Linked DNA regions of Homo sapiens: all the other regions are linked to region 4. The links are contacts of gene promoters, found by promoter capture Hi-C in blood cells and fetal thymus (Javierre and others, 2016). All regions are on one chromosome and are shown on one strand. The core of a region is centred on a gene start or on the middle of the fragment in contact, and the rest is flanking DNA. Distances in the headings are between cores, read along the strand shown. Region 1 overlaps ASAP1 (ArfGAP with SH3 domain, ankyrin repeat and PH domain 1). Region 2 has its middle 260 kb from the start of ASAP1. Region 3 has its middle 2.1 kb from the start of CYRIB. Region 4 holds the start of ASAP1 (ArfGAP with SH3 domain, ankyrin repeat and PH domain 1). Region 5 overlaps ASAP1 (ArfGAP with SH3 domain, ankyrin repeat and PH domain 1).

Region 1 (4,365 bases), core at 569-3,068, 350 kb after region 4:
TTTTTTTAACGATAAACCTAGGGAAGAAGCTGAGGAATAGCATATATAAACACATTTTGAAAACTACAAAGCATTATACAGATGCAAGGCCATAATAACAATCTCTGTATTGTTACAAAAATAAAATAGTTTCTGAAAACTGCTGTGACTGACACCCTAATTAAGTGTTGATTTGGGGTAAGCATCAGGCTTCCATTGTGTAATAGAATTACGCAATGGGACAAAGATGTAAATTATATAGCCTGGCAATTTAAACCTAAAGCAGATGATAATTTTACTGAGATTAACAGTATTTACTTTCAGAACTAGCCTATCTTATAGAAATAATGGTTTAAGTCAATATTGGTAGGGACTAGTAATTGACAATGGGAAATAGGAAAGCTTACTTTGTACCAAGGAAAGAGGCCAGCAGTAATTAGACTTTTTTTTTTAATATGAAGAGTGTATAAAGCTCTTTTGGAGCCCTTCTGGATTACTAGGTATCTACTAATCTGTGTTAAACATTCAGTGTGGCAGTGTTCTTAGCTTTCTTTTTTTTTTTTTTTTTTTTTTTGAGACGGAGTCTCGCTGTGACAGCCAGGCAGGAATGCAGTGGCATGATCTCAGCTCATTGCAACCGCCACTTCCTGGGTTCAAGCGATTCTCCAGCCTCAGCCTCCCGAGCAGCTGGGACTACAGGCGTGCACCGCCACACCTGGCTAATTTTTGTATTTTTAGTAGAGACAGAGTTTCACCATGTTGGCCAGGCTGGTCTTGAACTCCTGACCTCAAGTGATCTGCCCACCTCGGCCTCTCAAAGTGCTGGAGTTACAGGCGAGAGCCACCGTGCCTGGTCCTAGCTTTTTTTTCTTAACGTTTACAGAAGCAGTTTGCCATGAACACAGTTAAACCATATACCTTAAATAAAGCAATAGTAGTGAAAGTGCCCAGCATGGAATACCTGGCACACACCAGCCACTTCAATGTCACTTTGAATAAACAAAACTAAGATCAAATACACTACTCCCTTAACAGCTTTTAAAAACGAACCCCATTTTTGTGTGTATGTGGAATATTACTATCATTCCTGCTGTCTTGTCTTTAGCTCTGGAGAAAGTTGAGTCTTTTTTTTAGTCTATAAAAATCAGTGTCTATATAAATGTTGTTCAGGCTTCCAATATAACAGATGGTTTGGTTTCTAGAGCAAAGGGTTTTTGGATTTCTCTTTTTTCTAGGTAATGCTTTACGTCCAGTTCTTTCTTCATTATTTAGAAAAGCCTTAATTTTTTTTTTTTTTTTTTTAAGAAAAGCGTCAGGCAGTTTGCTGACTAGAAGAAAAAGTTGTAGAAAGAAAAATTCTATTATATGAATCATTTCATGTTTCAGCTTGTGGCCCAGTGAAGGCTTAGCCTGTACTCTGTTCTTTCTCTGTTGATTTTGCTGGTAGTGGTGTGTGATTTCTCCTTCAGTAGGTTCTGTGATGGTTATAAGGAGTTATTGTTTTAAGATGTGTGTGTGTGTTTGTTTTTCCCATTGTACCTAAATGATCTAAACTCAGTAGCATTCTGTGTTGACTGGCATTTTGTTCCTAAAAGCACACACTCTTCTTACCTTTGTTGTAAATTTTTCTCTGTTGCCTAGGCTGGAGCGCAGTGGCATAATCATAGCTCAGTGTATCCTCGAACTCCTGACTTCAAGTGATCCTCCTACCTCAGTCTTCCAAGTAGCTGAGACTACAAGCACACACCACCACACCTGGCTAATTTTTTAAATTTTTATAGAGATGGCGTCTTGCTGTGTTACCCAGGCTGGTCTCAAACTCTTGGCCTCAAGCAATCCTCCCACCTCAGCTTTCTACAGTGCAGGGGATTACAGGCATGAGCCACTGCACCTGGCCAATTTTATTTTTTTTTTAACCAAATTTTTGAAACCCTACTTGTGAGTTATTAGGTTGATGGAGTTAGCCATATCCAGCCTTTTGCTTTTGTCTCTGTGTGTCATACCACATTCTGATGTGTGGAAGTGATTTCATACTGGCTGTTTTGTATCTGTGAGACTGGGATTAATCTTCCTGCCCCCATTCAATTTCCTTTCTAGGTCCAACTGGCCCACCTTCAACACTCCCTCTAAGCACCCAGACCTCTAGTGGCAGCTCCACCCTATCCAAGAAGAGGCCTCCTCCCCCACCACCCGGACACAAGAGAACCCTATCCGACCCTCCCAGCCCACTACCTCATGGGCCCCCAAACAAAGGCGCAGTTCCTTGGGGTAAGTTATCCTAAAGTCAGGGCCAAAGCTGCTGGGGCCAGGCAGCGTGTGGGGCTCCACTGGGCAGTGGCCTGTTAGCACATTCAGAAAGTGTGCCAAAATGCACACACATGCTGGGTGCTGACTCGGGTATATATGACATGATTCTACCTGTCTCTTAAGGGAAAGGAACATTTTGAAAAATATTTAGGCCATTAAAAACTAAAAGGTGCTGAGCACTTCCTAAATCTTACTCAATTATAATAGCAACTCTGTGAGGTAGGTATTATTAGTCTCGTTTATATATAAGGAAACAGAGGCTCAGAAAAGCAAAGTAATCCATTTTCCTCACAACAGCCAGAATGGTTTTCTTATAAAGTGTAAATCAGCTCATGGTCACTTTTCTCCTTAACACCCTTTTGAGATTTCCTTTTGAGCTTCAGATAAATGCAAGCTCCCTATATCAAGGCCCACAGGGCCCTGCATGATCGGGCTCTTATCTCCTAGACCCTCTCCTGCCACTCTATCTTCAGGGCTGGCCTTCTTTCACTTCTTGGATACACCATCCTCTGCCTCCTGAGGGCCCTCCCACTCCCTGGAACTCTGTCATGCTTTTTGAACAGCTGCTTCCCTTTCATCCTTGAGTTCTCAGCCAGCATGTCTATCTCCCCCGCCCTCCAACGCAGCTTCCTCCCTACCTGTTTTCCCCCAAACACCTTATCACAGAATGTAAGCCGCCCCACTAAAATGTAAGCTCCATGAGAGCCAGAACCTTGTCTTGGTCTTGTTCTCACCAGTGTTTACTGGAACCACGCCTGGCATACAGTGAATATTCAGGAATCACTTGAGAATGAATAAATTTGCCCAGAGTCAGCTTGTTAATCATTTCAGTGACATTGACTGCACATGACAAATTCCCATCTACAAGGGACATAATTCCCATCTTTACTACTAGCCTGCTAGCGACTTAGGGGTCACCCCATCACGAAACAGGGTCTTGGCCCGTGACAGACACTCACAGAAGCTTTGCTGAATAAATTTGTTAGTTTGTGTGTCTCACCTCTTCCTGCTGTGGAGTTTCATTGTGGCTTTCTTCATATTTTTTGTGTTTTGAGTTTTGGGGGAAAGTTATATTGTCCCGTTGCTGATTGTCACCTGTTCACCATCTGGCCCAGACACCCCGGGTTATGTGTGTGCAAGCATGTGTGTGCATTTAGCCGTTCATTCTCTGACTCTGTTTGCTTACTTGAGGCACTTACTATGCCCCTTGCTTGGGCCTTCTCAGTCCATATGCTCGTGGAGTTCATGGTCTAATGCAGGACACACGTGGGTAAGTCATTAGAGCACATGTTCTTTACTATCAGGATAGACATGTTGTCTAAACACTAGAAATGCCAGAAAACTGAATGTCAGACTTTAGAGGAAAGCCAGGGAAGGTTTAGAGAAGAGGAGACATTGGAGTTTGGTGTTAATGAATTAGTTCCCACAAGCCAGGCAAGAACAATTGAGGTGTGCTAGCACATATGTACATAAAGACTAAGGATGTCCGTGACATTTTCAGAGGCTGCTGTGTAAGGCCTTCGGGATCCCCAGATTTCATCAAAAAGGCCTTTCCCCCAAATAACATTCCATGAAAGTCACAAGTTTCACATCAGCGTTTCATATCACAAATTAACCTCCTTTCCAAATTTCTCTTAAGTTTTAATCCTCTTGTTTAAGTGGCTTTATTTCTTAAGGTTTGAAGTGCCTTTATTCACATTGTATAGACTCGAACATTCCTCAAATAAATTTACCAAATTTCTGCTTTCTGGCTTGAAAATCATCACTTTTTTAGATTTTCACATCACTCAAGAGCAAGACTAGCAGCTGGCCGTTTTTCCCCCCATTGTTGATGGGTCAGGGAGCATTTTTTATTAAACAAAATTTACTTTAAAAGAGTGCCTGACAGTGAGCTGGGAGCCTTATAACCTTTTCCAGATGAGGACGCTGTTCTGTCTGTCAGTTTCTCACCAGCTAAGAGCCTCTCACCTACAACCAGCCTTGAAGGACAAAAATCATCATCTGTCCTCGGCCACAGTGACAGTTCGCCACATGGCATGGACTTTTGATTGTTGAAATCAAAATTTTAAATTTAAAAAA
Region 2 (4,609 bases), core at 451-2,950, 260 kb before region 4:
TGTATTCTATTAATTCCTAACCAAAAATAAAAAATTATTTGGGGAATTTTTATTAAAGTACATATGCGAAGATAGACTATTTTTTTTTAATATCCTTGAACAATATTTTCTAACTTTCTCTATGGGACATATGGGTTTCTAAAGGACATTCATGCATTTCATTAATTTAATTCAAGTACTTTCATGCTATAATTACAAACCGGATTTTTTTCTATGCTCCATTATGTTTTTTGTTTTCTATTAAGTTTCTAACTGGCTTTTGCTGATGTATAGGAATACCATTGACTTCTGTATTAGTCCATTCTTGCATCGCTATAAAGGAATACCTGAGGATGGTTAATTTACAAAAAGAAGTTTAATTGGCTTCTGGTTCTGCAAGCTGTACAGGAAGCATGGTGCCAGGATCTGCTTCTGGTGAGGTCTCAGGAAGCTTACAATCATGGTGGAAGGCAAAGAGAGATCAGGCGATGTCATGTAGTGAAAGCAGAAGCAAGAGATAAAAAAAGAGGGAGGTCCCAGACTCTTTTAAACAACCAGAGCTCACATGAACTAACTGAGCGAGAACTCATTTATTACCAAGGGGATGTTGTTAAGCCATTCATGAGGGATCTGCCCTCATGATTCTATCACCTCCCACCAGGCCCCACCTCCAACACTGAAAATCACATTTCAACATGAGATTTGGAGGGGACAAACATTCAAACCGTATCAACTTTTAAATACTAATCTTGCTTATGTCGCTTCTTTCTAACACCACCAAATTTATTTTTATAATTCGTCTGTAGATTCTGTTGCATTTACTATGCAGATAATCATTACATTGCAAATAATGTTTCTTTCTTTCCAAATGTTAGATATCACTTCTTTCTTCTTATCTTATTATATTGGCTTGACCTCCAGAAAAAACATTGAATGATTGATGATGGTGAATTTGTTGATTATCTTTTATATTTTTTAATGCTGTTGGTCTATTTCATTTGAAGCTGTGGTACTGGGTGCATGAAAATTTAGCATTGTTATATTTCCTCAAATGAAAAGCATTTTATTATTTTATATAGTAGCTTTCTTTATCTCTGTAAGGGTAACTCATCTATCAGCAGGTTTCATTGGCTGTGTATTTTGTGATTTATGGTCTCTTGGTATTTGTTTTGTTTTATTATTGAAATGTAATTCCCATACCTCTAGTTTTTTTAATAAACATGATTAAAGCTGTAAGTTTACTCTCACCTACTGTTTCACTGCATCTCACACATTTGAATGTGCAGTAATAACATTTCATTCTAAATGATTTTAAATTCTATTGTGATTACTTTGAGGCATAGGAGGAGTGGGTTTTTACTTAGTCCAAATTGTATATGTATTTTTAAAAGTTACATTTTACTTGTAAATTTCTAATTAAATTGCATTTTGGAAAGAAATCTGGTCTCTACAATGTCTTGGATTTTGTTAAAACTTTATGGTTTGATACATAGTGTTTATAAATGTTCTATGTGTGTTTGTCTATAAATGTTCTTGTGTGTTTATAAATGTTTTGTATGTATGTATGTACATCCTCTATGTTTTCATGAAGCCACATATATAATTTCAAGTTTGTTCTCAGTTTTCAAACTTCTGCACTCTCAATGAATTGGTAGCTGTTCAACCTATAGGTCTCTTTCTCTCTCTCTCAAAATATCTTCACCTATAGGTTAAAGAGCTACCAATAAATAAATATATTAATAAATAAATATATTAATATATTGGTAGCTCTTGACCTATAAGTCAAAGAGCTACCAATAAATAAATATATTAAATAAATATAAATAAATATATTAAATCTGCTCTTAAAAGTATAGCTACATCAATTTTTCTTATAATTCCATCAATTTTAGCTTCACATATTTTAAACTATATTACAAGGTCTACATAAGTTCATGTTCATTACATCTTATTCATGAATATTTCTACTGTAGCATGCAGGATACTATTAACTATTGCTGTTTAACAAACCAGCTAAAAATGCAACAGCTTAAAAAAATAAGCACTTATTATGACACATGAGTCTATGGGTCAACTGGACAGTCTTGTTGATCTGGGCCAGGTTCAGCTAATCTCAGCTGGGCATGCTCATGCATCTTGATCAGACAGTGGGCTGGTTGGGAGTTGGCTGCTCTGGGACGGCTTCAGTCACATGGCTGGTGTTGGCTGGCTGTTAGCAATAACAACAGATGTAACTGAGCCACAGTTCTCTCATCTCCCAGCAGGCTAGCCCTACCTTGTTCCCATGGCACTGCTGGGGCTCCAAAACCACAAAGGCTTCTTAAGAGCTATGCTCAAAACTGGCACAGCGTTACTTCCAGAACATTCCCTTGCCAAAGAAAGTCACAAACTAGCCCAGATTAAAGGGATTTAAATAAAAAAACAGAGAGAGAGACTTTTGTTAAGAGGACCTGCAAAGTTATTTGCATAAGGAGGGACAAAGAATTGAGCATGTTTTAAAAATCAATCTGTCACATACAATGCTTCTTCTTTCCTCAAAAAATGCTAAATATTTGAGACATATTAATACCGACCTACAGTAATTCCCCCTTATTGGCAGGGAATATGTCCCAAGACCTCCACTACCTGCCTGAAACCACGGATAGTACTGATCGCCATATATATGTTTTTCCTATACATGTATACCTATGACAAAGTTTAATTTATAAATTAGACACAGTAAGAGATTAACAATTGCTAATAATACAATAAAGCAATTATAACAATATACTGCAATAAACGTTATATAAATGTGGTCTCCCTCTCTCTCAAAATATCGTATTGTGCTACACCGTGGGTAACTGAAGCCATGGAAAGTGAAATTGTGAATAAGGGGGGACTACTGCATTTACGTAATATTTCTTTAGTTTTTTCTCATGAAGTCCAAATTTATTATCTCTATCTCACTTTCAAATAGGACAAGACACTTGGCATGTTTTAAATCAAGCTTGTCCAACCCACGGCCCACAGGCCATGTGCAGTCCAGGATGGCTTTCAATGCAACCCAACACAAATTCGTAAACTTTCTTAAAACTTTATGAGATTTTTCTTTTTACTTTTTTTTTGCTCATCAGTTGTCATTAATGTTATGTATTTTATGTGTGACCCAAGACAATTCTTCTTCCAAAGTGGCCAGGGAAGCCAAAAGATTGGACGCCCCTGTCTTAAATCATTAGAACTGCCCCATTTCTAGCTTTTACGTTATTATTGTCTAAAATTTTTCTTCCATTGTTTTATTTAAATCCAAAAAGGTGTGTGTGTGTGTGTGTGTGTGTTCATGTGTAGGTTTTACTCTAAATAGTTCATGAGTAACTACATATTTCCACAGTTTCTTTGTTTACAGTATTTTCTTGAACCTTACTTCTTTCTTCCATATTTGTTTTTCTTCTTGATGAATTTTATCATTTTGTAGTTCTTTGGGCTGTAATTTCCTTTACATTCTTTCTTTTTATTTTATTTCATTTTTTTGAGACAGGGTCTCATGCTGTCATCCAGACTGGAGTGTAGTGGTGCAATCACAGCTCATTGTAGCTTCGACTTCCCGGGCTCAAGCGATCCTCCTACCTCAGCCTCCAGAGTAGCTGGGACTACAGGTATAGCCACTATTCCTAGATAATTTTTTAATTTTTTGTAGAGATGGGAGTCTCTCTATGTTGCCCAGGTTGGTCTTGAAATCCTGGGCTCAAGCGATCTTCCCACCTCAGCCTCCCAAATTGCTGGGATTACAGACATAAGCACCACATTCAGCCCCTGCTTTTATGCTTAAACAAATTTTCTACGTAATTCTAGGGTGGTAATTATTTTATCTCTGCTCTTTGGGTGGGGATACACACACACACATACCTATAACATATATACACATATATATAACTTCAAAGCCAAAATTTCAAACATATTTTTAGGTTGGTGCAAAAGCAAACCTACCTAACATTTTTATGAAAATGTTGGGTTTACCAGCCATCCCATTACTGGGTATATACCCAAAGGACTATAAATCATGCTGCTATAAAGACACATGCACATGTATGTTTATTGCGGCATTATTCACAATAGCAAAGACTTGGAACCAACCCAAATGTCCAACAATGATAGACTGGATTAAGAAAATGTGGCACATATACACCATGGAATACTATGCAGCCATAAAAAAATGATGAGTTCTCATCCTTTGTAGGGACATGGATGAAATTGGAAATCATCATTCTCAGTAAACTATCGCAAGAACAAAAAACCAAACATCGCATATTCTCACTCATAGGTGGGAAATGAACAATGAGAACACATGGACACAGGAAGGGGAACATCACACTCTGGGGACTGTTGTGGGGTGGGGGGAGGGGGGAGGGATAGCATTGGGAGATATACCTAATGCTAGATGACGAGTTAGTGGGTGCAGCGCACCAGCATGGCACATGTATACATATGTAACTAACCTGCACATTGTGCACATGTACCCTAAAACTTAAAGTATAATAATAATAAATTAAAAATAAATAAATAAAAAAGAAAAAAAGAAAAGGTTGGGTTTAATAGTAAGTTGATTTAAAGGAAAATAATCAGTAAAGATTAGCACAGAAAGTGTACAGGTAAA
Region 3 (4,227 bases), core at 882-3,381, 430 kb after region 4:
TAACAATAATATTCAAACTACATTATTCAATCCTAAATCCTTTTACTTTCCATTGTGAAAGGATTAGTTACATAAACCGGCTGCTCTTAGTTACCGCACTCTGTTGCTATGATTCTGACATATTGGTTCATTTCTGCAATGCTATTGTGGATATACTGAAATACTGAAAATATACTTAAGGTTCTGCTCACTAGCTTTTTATCCGTCAAGTTATTCTTTCCCTAAAATTCAGGTGAAATTCATATGACACATAGCTAACCATTTTAAAGTGAACAATTGGGTGGCATGTGGTACATTCACTAATGTGCAACTACCACACTTGATTTAATTCCAAAATATTTTTGTCACCCCCAAAAGAAGCCCTATATCCATTAAGCAGTTACTCCCCATTCTCCCCTCCTCCCAGCCCCAGGAAACAATCACTTATCAGCCTTTGAAGCCCGAGGCTCTGCATCTCCCGGTAAAGACCCTGTTCCAACTTGAGGGTTAGCTCTGTGTGTCCCGGGAAGTCATTCCACCTCACTGAGTGGGATTCCCAGCCTAAAGGGGCTAGCTGAGCCTCTGAAGCATCTTCCGAGGGCTGTGCTCCAGTGCCAGGACGGCATTCCTTAGTGAGCTTGGGCGTAGTTTTCCCTTTCGGTTCCCAATGGCCAGAGGTGTGAGGAGACTGAAAAGCAGGTGTGAGGAGACTAATGCCGCTGAGTTTGCTTTTATCACGATGGGATGTGGAGTGGGCTTAATTGCAAAATACTAACAGCAGGACAAAAACTGAGTCTCTGTGTCTCCCAACTTTACCTTCTGTTACCTTTTGTACATAATAGCACTCTTGCAAATGCTCAGCAGGGAAATGCATTTTGGAGGAATATTTTTGAGGGACTTTTGCATATATGAAGGAAATAGCTATTTTTTTTTTTTTGCTTGAAAGCTGTGTGGACCACATGTGCTATGAAAGCACAGCCTTCTTTTTTAATTTTTAATTTTTAAAATCTTGGTTTTTCAAGATTCTTTGCTTGGCCAATGAAAGCACCAGATTCTAATGTTGAAAGTAAAATGTGCATGCTGCTTTCCAGTTATAAAGCATGAAAAACTCATTTTCTTACATAGTCCTCTCAACAACAGAAGATAATGTTATTATTCCCACTTTACAGATAAGAACATTCAAGAAGTCAGAGGTTAAATGACTTGCCCAGAATTGCACAGCTGAAAATGGCAGGCAGGCTTTCCCAACTCCAAAGACAGTGCTGTCTATAGGATGCTGGACTTCTGCCTACCATTGTCAGGGTTGACATCCCGGGGAAACAGAGCAGTCACTACAGAATTGCCAGAGGTTTCCCCGGGTATTATTCCCAGGTTCCCAATGGCTTGAATTGGTCAAACCTATCAGGATCAGAGTGAGCCTAGGCTCATGCTCTCAGCCTCACTGTATCCAGTGAATGGAGACTTTCTCCTCTGAGACACACACATCAGAGTTAGACTCTCCATCCCACATATTTCAGAATTCAGTAGAGTGCAGGCTAGCAGGCATCCAAGCCCTGCCCTCACCTTCATCTATTCTTCCCTGCTTCCTGGACCCCCAAATTTGCATTCCATGTTACGCTCACATCAAACTATTTACAGATCCCAAGCTTGCCTGAAAGTTCCTTACCTCATGCCTTTAACAATTATTATGGTAGGCCAGGCGCAGTGGCTTGAGCCTGTAATCCTAGCACTTTGGGAGGCTGAGGCGGGTGGAACGCTTGAGTTCAGGAGTTTGAGACCAGCCTGGGCAACATGGCAAAATCTTGTCATCACAGAACAATACAAAAATTAGGCTGGGTGCGGTTTTTGGGAGGCTGAGGTGGGCGGACCGCCTGAGGTTGGGAGTTCGAGACCAGCCTGGCCAACATGGTGAAACTCCACCTCTACTAAAAATACAAAAATGAGCCAGGCGTGGTGGTGCACATCTGTAATCCCAGCTACTTGGGAGGCTGAGGCATGAGAATTGCTTGAACCCGGGAGGCAGAGATTGCAGTGAGCCAAAATTGCGCCACCGCATTCCAGCCTGGGTGACAAAGTGAGACCCTGCCTCAAAAAAAAAAAAAAAAAAAAAGGTAAATTGTAACAGTTATGATAATAGTAACAACAATGGTGATTGCTTTCTCCTGGGTCCTATCCATATTAGGTTCTATATATTCGCTATTTCATTTAACCCTCACCATAACCTAACGAAGTCATTATTATCCATTCCATTTCACAGATGAACAAACTGAGGCTGAGAGTGGCTAAGTGCTTGGGCTCTGGAGTCAGACAATCTAGGTACATACCCAGCTCCACCGCTGTCTAATCTGTGTGATCTTGGGCAAATCTCATCTCTCTTCCAGCTGCAGTATCTTAATGCATGACACTGGGCCATGATAAACCTGCTTCATGGGCCTGCACACACTTGGCACCTGCTTAGTACTTTATAAATGTTCAGAATTGTTAATGCTCATTTTATAAGCGGCTCAGCTCTGCCTGCTTCCAAACCCTTTTCCTGCTTCTCCTCAAGGTCATAGTTCAGGACCCAGTGTTTCCCCACCTACTTCTCAGCCCCCACAGCAAGGTGGACATTAGTTCCCTTCCTTTAGGAATGAAGGCACTGGCGCTCGGGTAAGCTTAGAGAGCAGTCCAGGGAGTACTGCTGAAATGGCACCATCTCAGGGTCCCCAGCTCCGAGAACTGGGCCTGGCCAAGAGAAGGCGCAAGGCACCTTTGTTAAAGAATTGGCGGGCTGGGTGTGGTGGTTTATGCCTGTAATCCCCACACTTTGGGAGGCGGAGGCAGGGAGGATCCCTTGAGCCCAGGAGAAACAGGCCAGCCAGGGCAACACAGGGAGACCCACCTCTACAAAAATCTATAAAAATTAGCTGAGCATGGTGGTGCATACCCGTGGTCCCAGCAACTCGGGAGGCTGAGGTGGGAGGATCGCTTGAGCCCAGGAATTTGAGGCTGCAGTGAGCTATCGCATCACTGCGCTACCTAGCCTGGGAAACAGAGCAAAATCCTGTCTTAGACAAAAAAAAAAAAAAGAAAGAAAAAAGAAAAGAAATGGAACAACTGGCTCCTAATCAGGTAACTCAGCACTGAGTATGATGTGAGCACACTCCAACCCCCCTATAGCTGGAGGTGGAGGTGGAAAGACAATGGAAGCCTTTGATGTAACCCTTTTGATACCCTGCTAGAGGACAGCAGAAAGATACTTGAGAGAATGTTGTCTATCTTCCCGAGAAATTTCTGGTTGAATGTCAAGATAATGATAGGATGGGCTTCTGGGCCAGGGGAGCAAGGCAGAGGGAAGGAGAGTATCAGTTTCCTAGGCATGTCCTGTTACAGGGAGAAAAACACAGTATTTTCCATTCTAGATCAGGGGAAAGATGAGGTCTCCCATAATACCTGAAACTGGAATTATGGCGAGGAGCTTTTTATGTGGGAATTTCTGTACTAAATTTAAAGTCCTTGGAGAACCGCTTAGGGTAGCACCGACAGCCCGCACCGTCCCCTCACCCCGCTTTATTTTTCCTCTGGCACAGCACTTAGCACCATAGGACCCATCAGATATTTACGGCCTGTCCCCGCTGCCCCTCCCGGGCAGGGATTTTGTTTTGGTTCGCAGCTGCAGCTCCAGGGCCTAGAACAGCCCGGGCACTTAGTAGGCCCAGTAAGTATCTGCGGGAGGGCTGAATGGGTGCGTGGACAGCATTCCTCTCACTGACCCCGCTGCGAGGTGAGCCAGGCAGGGGCTGTCACCATTCCTGAAGTCCAGGTGAGGGGGAAGCGACCCAGGGATGGGAACCTGGCCGGCCTGAAGGTCTGGAGACCGGGGTTCGAGCCCAAGCCCTGCCTGACAGGCAGTGACCTTGGGGGTCACTCTTGCGCCTCTCGGAGCCGGGTTTCCTCCTCGCACAATGAGGGCGATGACCCCCAATCGCAGCGCGCCCCGCGGTGACTTGCCCAAGGTCACCACCGTCCCGGGCCCGTGGCGCCCCGGCTCGGGAGGACACGGGCCAGGCGGGCGCGGGGTTCTGGGGTGGGGGCCGGCGCGGGGCGGTCCCGGGGCGCGGCGCGCGCTGACGCCGGGGCCCCGCGATGCGGCGGGGACTGGGCGCGGGGGGAGGCGCGTCGCGAGGCGAGCGTCCTCCTTTTGTGCGAGCGCCGGCGGCTCGGCTTCTCGAAGGTAAACAGCGCTTCCTCTTCCTCCTCGCCGCGCCT
Region 4 (4,227 bases), core at 742-3,241:
ACTAATAGAGCCATCTGGTGCTCCTTCCACCGCACTGGGCGTTCCCTTTTGAATCTCTCCACCAAAGAGGAAGCCACAGGGAGCTGCGGGACCGAGTGAACCACCCTACCTCAGGCAGAGGTCCCATCTGCAACTCTAGTTTGTTTGCTTCTTTCATTTATTCAACACGTGTTTATCGATGGTCTCATATGGGCCAGCACTGTTCTAAGGAAACAGGCAAAGGTACTGCTGTAATGCAGTTTACCCATGCAGTGGGGAGAGTGGGGGGCAGATAAAAAATAAGCAACCAATCATGTAGGCTACATTAAACAGTGACAAGGGCTATGAAGCAATCAAACAGGATGCGCTATGTTTGGGAGAGGTGGAGGTGGGGTGTAGGTGCCAGAGACAAGCAGATCACATGGTTGGGGAAAACCTATCTGCGGAGCTGACTTCTGGGCTGTGAGCTGCGTGCCAAGAACAGCCATACAAGGGTTCTTCCAGGCAGAGGGGACGGCAGCTACAGTGGGCCTGGAGCAGGACCCTGGGACTCCTGGTGCCCAGCTCAGAGCTGTCCTACTGCTTCTGGCCACGGAGAGAGAATTGCAGAAAAGGAACAATGCTGGGTCTAAAACTGGTATCTGTTCCTTACTTGGAGTAAACGAGCTGGTACCCAACTTTCAGTTCCCAGCAGGTTCATTTCAGGCTTCTGTTTTCGCTCATGAGCATGTTGTTCCCTCTTCAAAGTCTGATTGGGTTTCAAAGGAATCTGAAACACTTACAGCAAAACCACCAAGCTGCATCCTCCAGGTAGACACCCCCGAAATGTGGCATTTCCGTGGGAAACCACAATGAATCACTCATTGGCTGCCCGACCTCTCTGCCCAGTCAGAGATTGATTTTGGTTTTCCCAAACTTTGTAAATCCGCTCCAGACTGTTTAACAACCCCCACTCCCCACTACACCCAGACTCTCAGATTAGGAGCAAAATCCCAAATTTTGTGAGGTTTTCTGTTTCGGATTTCACCAGAAGGGGGTCTGCCACAGCCACTAACCATTTCCTCTGCAGAGAGCCGTTTCTGAAATGCTGCAAAGAAAAACAATCACCCAATGATTAGGAGGGAAATTAAGTTCTAAAGAAAGACTACTGTCTCTGACTTTGAAAGTAGACATAGATATGCACAATATACATCCCACAAATTAAAATCCTCCTTTCTCTGATGTCTTTTAATGGTAATAATAAGGACAAGCATGGCTATCATTTATTTGGGCGTTTCCAATGTGCCAGTCCCTGTCTAAACATTCAGCTTCCAGATCAAACCTATGAGGGTGGAATTAACATCCATTTCATAAATGGAAACTGAGGCTCAGGAAAGTTGAGCGAGTTACTCAAGGTAACATGAGTAGAAAAAAGGCCATATTCCAACCGGACACAGAGCCTGCAGCCCACACAATTACTCTCCATACTGTTCCTATACTATCCTGACTGGGAAGGTCCTGTTCCCTTGGCACTGGGCAAAAATAAAATTATAAGAGCAGAGAGGAAGTGGTGAAAGGGGGCAGCCTGGTGAAATCATTCCTTTACTGAAAATAGGGGTAACGGCCAGGACAGTGCAGGTCCATCCTCTGCAGATGGAAGACAGGCACGTCCTTTGCCGCTGTCCCGGCCTTAGAAAGGCACCTTCCGCGTCCAGGGTTTTCTGTGGATAAATCCCACCCCTTCCACCTCAGGCGGGGAGGAGGCCGGCCGGCCGGGGCATGGGGCGGAAGGCGAAGGACGCCCGACCCCGGCCGAGGTCTGGGGCCCCTCCCACGCCCCCCTCGTGGCTGCCGGCGGGCCAAGGGTTAAGCGAGGCGGGAGCCCCCGGCGCGGAGCGGCTCGGGGCCGGGAATGCTTAGTCAGGATTCCGATTTCCTGTCGAAGTGTTTGGATTTCCTGAAACCCGCGCCCTCCGCCGCCGAGCGGGATCGTGCGAGCCGCTCGCGTCGCCGCGGCCTCCTCCCCCTCGGCACATGGTCGCCCGCCCCTTCCTGCGCCGCGCTCGGCTCCCGCGCCTCGCCTGGCCTGGCCGCTGCCGCGGGCGAGCACTGTGCGCTGGGCAGCCCCGGGCCCGCGCCTCCCGCCCAGCCGGCGCTTCCCGGTCGCAGTTCGCTTTCCCACCCGAGAGCCGCGAGCGCCCGGCCGAACCCGCGATGGAATAATGCCCAGCGGCCCGCCAGGTCCCGGTGAGTTGCGGGGCGCTCGGGCGCGCTCGGCGGGGCCGGGCGGAGTCGCCCACAGTCGCGGGCGCCCCCTGCCCAGTCTCTCGCGCGAAGAAGGGCGCCGGGACGGGGCGCGGGGCGGGCTCCCGGCTCCTCTCGCAGCGGGGTGTCCTTCTCCGCGGGGAGGGCGCCGGCCCTGGGCTGGGGCGTGTGCGGGACGCGCGGCCAGGCTCTGCGGGGCCGGGCGAGGCCGCCCGGTGGGGGGGGGAGGTCTCCTCGCCTCCAGCTCGGGAGAGGGGGCCCCTGCAGTGGGGCCGGGGACGGGGCCCGCCCTGGGGGGTTTCGCGTCCCCCTCCGGGGGAGGGCCCGGGACGACGTGCTTGGCGGCCCGGACCCCGCCGATGGGGCGCCCTCCCGGCATTGTCTCTGGTGCAGCCGAGGAAAGTTCCCCGCGGCCCCCGGCCCCTACCCGGACCCGGCGCTGCTTGGCAGGCCCCAGGCCACTTGCCTAAAGCAAAAGAAGAGAAACGAAAGGGAAGGGGGTGGGGGGAGTCCTACTTGGAGCTTGGGGTTGGCTCCTGGGCGGACCGTGAAGTGGCTTGTGTTTTCTGCTTGTACCATTTTGGGACCTGCTGCGTTTTCTGAGAGCGACATGAAGTTTCAAAGAAAAAAGAAACTTGCCGGTGTCCGGTTTTCTGCGGTTTGATACATCCCAAGAGGTTCATCTTGGGCACTTCTAAAGCAGTTTCCTTTAATAATGTGGTTTTCCAGTAGCTCAGGGAGAAGGATGGTCAACTGCAGACCATCATCGTTAACTTGACCTCAACTTTACCTGTACTCGTCAGGAAAGCAAAAGAACTTTCTCTCGCATTTTCCCCTGTCTACTCTGTTAGGTTATCTTGGCGTGATTGATTCTGGGATGACATCAGGACCTGGATTGCTGAGTAATGTTTTGGGATTGTAAAAGCTTATCAGTTTTTAGGCCAGGGTTATCTGTATTGCAACCTTCATCCCAAAGCCTTTCTGTTTTGCAATTGTAGCGCGGCCAGATAGCTTTAAGAAAATGCGGGTCTTCTGGAAACACCCAGTGAACAGTTTGGAAAGAAAAAGATCTTTGAGAACAACTGATTCACCCCCTTCAGAGAAGGCCCAGAAAGGTGACCTGACTTGCCCAAGATCACATGGCCAGGAGTAGTTTCCACTTCTTCAGGCTCAGTCCCATGCCCCTTCTGTGTTAGATTTTGATCTGTTAGCCATGAAACAGATTTGGAAACGTCTTCTTTGCGTCACAGCCTTCACCACTTTAGTGCCTTCTCTTCTGTCCTGTTAATGCTGCTATTTTTGAGATATGCACTTATTTCAAACTGCATATTTTGAGATAGGGAGTTAAAAAAAACAAAAATCACCTAACGCCACTAAGTGGATTTGGAGATTCAGCTACCAAATGGATTTGAAGTATAAAATGAGTGGCTTATTATACGGGGAATTACTTTCCCTATCCCATTCTTTTGTGCAAAATAGAAACTCCCAGGTCCAAAAAAGGGCAGTATCTTAGCACATAATGTACCCTCTGATGTTCTCTAGACTTGATTTTCAGCCCTCCTGTTTCTTGTGAGCTAAGCAGCCCATCTATTTTTCTCATGAGAGCTCTGAATGGCTGGTTTTTCATTTTTAGTATGTGATAATGTTGGAGAGAAAGGACTTTTCGCAAGCTTGCCATTTGGTGAGGGAAATTGAAATTCTCTACACCTCCCCAGTCCTCACCAGCCACAGCGAGCCAGATTTTCAAAATCAGTGCAAGCCTGGCAGGCCCAAAGATGAATGTGTGCATTCAGATTGAGCCCTCCCTTGTGAAGACTCACGTCCCAGCTGGCATCTCCATGCTGCACCTAGGTGACTGAAGTCTAGAGGAAAGAAGGGAACCCCAGTTAGCTAGGACAGTGTTGTTCCTGCCATTTCCCCACCTAGGTCTCAGCCGTATTTGGATCCTGCTGCTCGGTTCTCATTTTTCCCTGCCGTTTTTTCACCCAACCACTGCTGTATCTG
Region 5 (4,338 bases), core at 942-3,441, 370 kb after region 4:
CTGACACACCTAACATAATAACAGATGACTATAACAAGGGTTATAAGCCAGCAACTGTGGACGAAAACTAATACATATCATAGCACCACAGCCTACTCCCTGGTTTTCTACTGTGGATCCTTTATATCAAAAAACATATATATACACAATCATTAATAATTAGTCCAGTCCATCATAGTGTATGAATGTCTCCCAGGATGATGAGGACACTCAGGTTTGCAGGTTTCCTCTCAATATTGTCAGGTTCCACAAGCAGGAGTGGTCTGGGTAAATACACAGCTTCACCCTCTCAGGCATGTGGAATCATTGAGCTAAGAGGCAGTGTCATCTCTTGCCCTGAGACTCTTTTGAGTTGTCTCATTTGCCCATTTATTTGTTTACTCTCAGCTACTATTTCTCCTTCTCTCCATTAATCTCCAAACTTTTTTGAAGGGACATTAGAATCACCACTGTGCTGGTCTAGATTACAAGCAGCAATACAAGTCTAGCAAGTAGCTCCTCAGTCCACTCCCATTCAGATAGGGTGAGGCTACATAGATGCAGAACCAATGAGCTATTTTTACCACCGGCCATATTCACTGTTAGCCCCAATTTTGTTAGAAGGGGTGAAGGCACATCTCACCCCCATGATGCCCTCAGGAATTTTGACATAATATTTAAAAACATGGTTACAGTTTTTTACTTAGCATTCCTGCTAAAAATTTTTTGAAGTGTTGGGCGCAGTGGCTCATACCTATAATCTAAGCTCTGTGGAAGGATGGGAGGATGGATTGAAGTCAGGAGTTGGAGACCAACCCAGGCAATACAGTGAGACCCCATAGCTAAAAAACAAAAATCATCTTTGCTGTCCCAGCAACTCCTGTCCTAGGATCACTGCATCGGGTAGGGGAGAAAAAATACTTTTTTTTCTTAGATGATTTGGGGAAACTCTGCTTTCTCTCTCTCTCTCTCTCTCTCTCTCTCTCTCTCTCCCCCCCTCCCCTCTCTCTCTCTCTCTCCCCCCCTCCCCCTCTCTCTCCCCCTCTCTCTACCCCTCTCTCTCCCCCTCTCTCTCCCCCTCTCTCTCCCCCTCTCTCTCCCTCCCTCTCTCCCTCTCTCCCTCTCTCCCTCTCTCTCCCTCTCTCCCTCTCTCTCCCTCTCTCCCTCTCTCTCCCTCTCTCCCTCTCTCCCCTCAAGGAGTATCTCCTCCTTGAGTTCCTCAGGTAGCATGATCCTCTATAAACCATTTCCATTTTATTGTGGAACTCTTCTAGGCACTGCCTTCCCCATTAGAATGTTCTTGGACATCACCTGAGACAGCATGGGTATTTCAGATGTCATAGGGGTAACTTCAACTAACATTTCATAGCAAGGTCCCTTAAGTGGAAATTCTCTATTCCAAAGTCCCAGTAGTTGTTGCTGGGAGGTGCTCAAAACACTTTTGCCATAAGCCCCAGGAACTGCTCCACAGGGGGTTATCAAGTGGAGAGTTTGTCCCTGCCAGCACTCTAGCTTCTACTCTGCACTCTGCAGGCTTGGGCATGTCCAATTAATATTGGAGAGCAGATTTACATGCCTTCTGTTTTATAGTACCAGGTAGGGGAAACATTCTCCAGTGTGATACTGTGTTCATTACCATGATACAATCAAATAAAAGAGATGCAGTCGGCCGGGCACGGTGGCTCACGCCTGTAATCCCAGCACTTTGAGAGGCCAAGGTGGGCAGATCAGGAGGTCAGGAGATGGAGACCATCCTGGCTAACACGGTGAAACCCCGTCTCTACTAAAAAATAGAAAAAATTAGCCGGGCATGGTGACGGGCGCCTGTAGTCCCAGCTACTCAGGAGGCTGAGGCAGGAGAATGGCGTGAACCCGGGAGGCGGAGCTTGCAGTGAGCCGAGATTGCGCCACTGCACTCCAGCCTGGGCGACAGAGTGAGACTCCGTCTCAAAAACAAAAAAAAAGAGATGCAGTCAATTCACATGAAGTGTGTTCAAATATACCAACTTTCATCATCCTATCAACCCTTACATTTTTATATTCTAGTTTCAGGAACTTCTTCACCCCCAGACCATTTTACTCTCTCTTGCGCAAAAAGCTTTGGGTCTTCTGCCAAGGGTTGAGCCAAAGGACCCTGGACCTTTTGTCAATCTTTATTTTGATTAGTCTGCCCCATTTTTGCCCCAGGCAATTTCATATCATATGTTTCATTGTAATCTCTACCTTGCAACTTTTAAAATTTCTTCAAACTGCAAGAAATACAGTAAACTGGGTTAGGGCCGTTTAATGTTGGGAGAGCGGAGGGGTTTGGTCCACCCAAGCTTCGATAATGTTGTATTAAGATCTTTGTTGTGCTCACTTCGGCAGCACATATGCTAAAATTGGAACCATACAGAGAAGATTAGCATGGCCCCTGCTCATGAATGACACGTTATTTTTTAACAACAGCAAAAAAAGACCTTTGTTTTGGTAAGCGCAGTGGCTCATGCCTGTAATCCCAGCACTTTGGGAGGCTAAGGCGAGTGGATTGTTTGAGCTCAGGAGTTTGAGACCAGCCTGGGCAGCATGGCAGAACCCTGTCTCTACATAAAATACACAAAATTAGCCAGGCGTGGTGCCACATGCCTGTAGTCCCAGCTACTCAGGAGGCCGAAGTGGGAGGATTGCATGAGCCTGGGAGGCAGAGATTGCAATGAGCTAAGATCACGCCACTGCACTCCAGCCTGGGTGACAGAGCAAGACCCTGCCTCAAAAAACAAAGACCTTTGTTTTAACTGTATCAATTTCCATTTTATTCATTCCATTTCTTAATAACCATCTAAAGATTTCTACCCTGCTGGGATGAGTCCCATGACTCTCCCCTTTCTTTTTCTTCTTAGTTTTATCCTATCAGTGTTTTCTTCACCTTATTTGTTAATAACCATTTTAAAATTTCCACCTTCCTGGGAGGAGTCCTTTGGCTCTCACTTTTGCCTTTCCCTGTTCTCTTGTTAATTAACCTAATATTTTTATTAGCATCTATAAGACCCATGAAGGGAAGCTGAGACAGCAAATTTAATAAGGCTTCTTGAACTGTTCATTTCTGTAGGAGTAATATCACATGGGGTGCCCATGTAGAAGGGGCCCTCTTAACCACACATTTACCATGACTTGGGTAACAGGCATGTTCAGCGTGTGAATAGCCCTGTCATCATAAAGCCAGTCCCACATGCATACAGAGCATATCAGCTACTGCATCTGGGGTGTCCCACTTGACATTTGTAGGTAGAGTTGGACAGTCCCCCTTCTCAGGGTGAACAGACCTTACAGTGGCTTTTATCTGTTCCACCAAGCTGCCAGTTACCGCAGGAATAGCCTCCTGTGTGTCTGGATCATATATACCCATATGCAGTTGTTCAATAGTGAGCTGTGGGTCCCATCAATCCAAACATGTACTTCTACTCTGTAGTGTTTAAAACCAAAGATACTGCCCCTAAATTAGTCACTCTTACAGTGCGTTTTAGTAAAGGTTCCTCAGGAAGCTGATGATACTGATCTACAGAATGAAACAGTTCTTTCGCACTATACCCTCTAGTTTCCATAGTTACTTAGTTTTGCCCCTCCTTCACATTGACTACCTTCTTGGTAACCACAAGTCTCAGAGGTACTTTCTGTTGTCCCTGCGTAATTTTCTCCTTTGTGGGTAACTTTAAGGCTAGTGGACTAAGCTCAGGCAGACCCACATCTGAGCTTAGTCCAGCCTCAAGTCCTGACCCAGCACCCTCTTTTATTTTAGCCATTATAGACAACAATAACCAGGGATTAAATATTTCACTTTTTTCTTAGTTTGCATTTCTTTATGCATCCAGTGCCCCAACTCCTGGGGAGTTGGATCCATCTCTGAATTCCACTGGTAACTTTTACCTTTAGTAACTGATCTCAGCACAGCTGTGGCTTCATACCCTGGGTGACCACATGGCCACATAGGAATCCAAAGATTCCTGATCCCCCACCCTTTTATCCTTTCTCTTCTCAAACCACATGTTTCTGTGAGTCAGAGCTGTTCCAACAAATCCTGCTTCGCTGATACCAAATGTGTGGTGTACGGCTCCCAGCAGACTGATTTTTATGTCGCTATTAATATAAACCTTGATGATCAGATGCTTTGAAAGATCTTTGGGTGTAAAGGACAAAATGTAATGGCAGCATACACAACATGCCGCAGTGTGCTATGTACACTTTTATCACCGTTCCTTTTGTGGATGAAAAGCTATTAAGCAGAATACAGGAAAACACTGGGTTCTTAATGGGATTAAAGCAGTGGGGCTGGGCACGGTGGCTCACACCTGTAATCCAAGCACTTTGGGAGGCCCAAGCTGG

The links. Contacts are between HindIII fragments. The CHiCAGO score rates a contact against its expected background, and 5 or more counts as called.
Region 1: a fragment that was not itself captured here is called in contact with the fragment with the promoter of ASAP1 in region 4 in 3 of 17 cell types (naive CD4 T cells, naive CD8 T cells and total CD4 T cells); the score reaches 5.5 in naive CD4 T cells.
Region 2: a contact is called between a fragment that was not itself captured here and the fragment with the promoter of ASAP1 in region 4, in 1 of 17 cell types (M1 macrophages). The highest score is 5.7, in M1 macrophages.
Region 3: a contact is called between a fragment that was not itself captured here and the fragment with the promoter of ASAP1 in region 4, in 1 of 17 cell types (activated CD4 T cells). The highest score is 5.2, in activated CD4 T cells.
Region 5: a fragment that was not itself captured here is called in contact with the fragment with the promoter of ASAP1 in region 4 in 1 of 17 cell types (total CD8 T cells); the score reaches 5.8 in total CD8 T cells.

What each region holds. Positions count from the first base shown.
Region 1 is chr8:130,089,855-130,094,219 of GRCh38, reverse strand. ASAP1 (ArfGAP with SH3 domain, ankyrin repeat and PH domain 1) reads left to right here. Exons shown (of 30, transcript NM_018482.4): 25 at 2,077-2,247. Among named protein-coding and RNA genes, the nearest start is that of ASAP1-IT2, 7.3 kb to the right of the region's middle. The HindIII fragment of the contact is 2,869 bases long and covers 384-3,252 here.
Region 2 is chr8:130,699,473-130,704,081 of GRCh38, reverse strand. No RefSeq gene overlaps it. Among named protein-coding and RNA genes, the nearest start is that of ASAP1, 260 kb to the right of the region's middle. The HindIII fragment of the contact is 2,535 bases long and covers 433-2,967 here.
Region 3 is chr8:130,016,572-130,020,798 of GRCh38, reverse strand. It overlaps a transcript of CYRIB not described here. Among named protein-coding and RNA genes, the nearest start is that of CYRIB, 2.1 kb to the right of the region's middle. RefSeq lists silencers at 4,027-4,086, 4,137-4,206. The HindIII fragment of the contact is 1,008 bases long and covers 1,628-2,635 here.
Region 4 is chr8:130,441,438-130,445,664 of GRCh38, reverse strand. ASAP1 (ArfGAP with SH3 domain, ankyrin repeat and PH domain 1) reads left to right here and starts at 1,991. Exons shown (of 30, transcript NM_018482.4): 1 at 1,991-2,205. RefSeq lists silencers at 1,907-2,006, 2,047-2,136, 2,147-2,306, 2,357-2,436. The HindIII fragment of the contact is 9,673 bases long and covers 1-3,150 here.
Region 5 is chr8:130,067,645-130,071,982 of GRCh38, reverse strand. All of the region lies in intron 27 of ASAP1 (ArfGAP with SH3 domain, ankyrin repeat and PH domain 1), which reads left to right. It also overlaps the pseudogene RNU6-1255P. Among named protein-coding and RNA genes, the nearest start is that of ASAP1-IT2, 15 kb to the left of the region's middle. RefSeq lists an enhancer at 1,470-2,352. The HindIII fragment of the contact is 223 bases long and covers 2,080-2,302 here.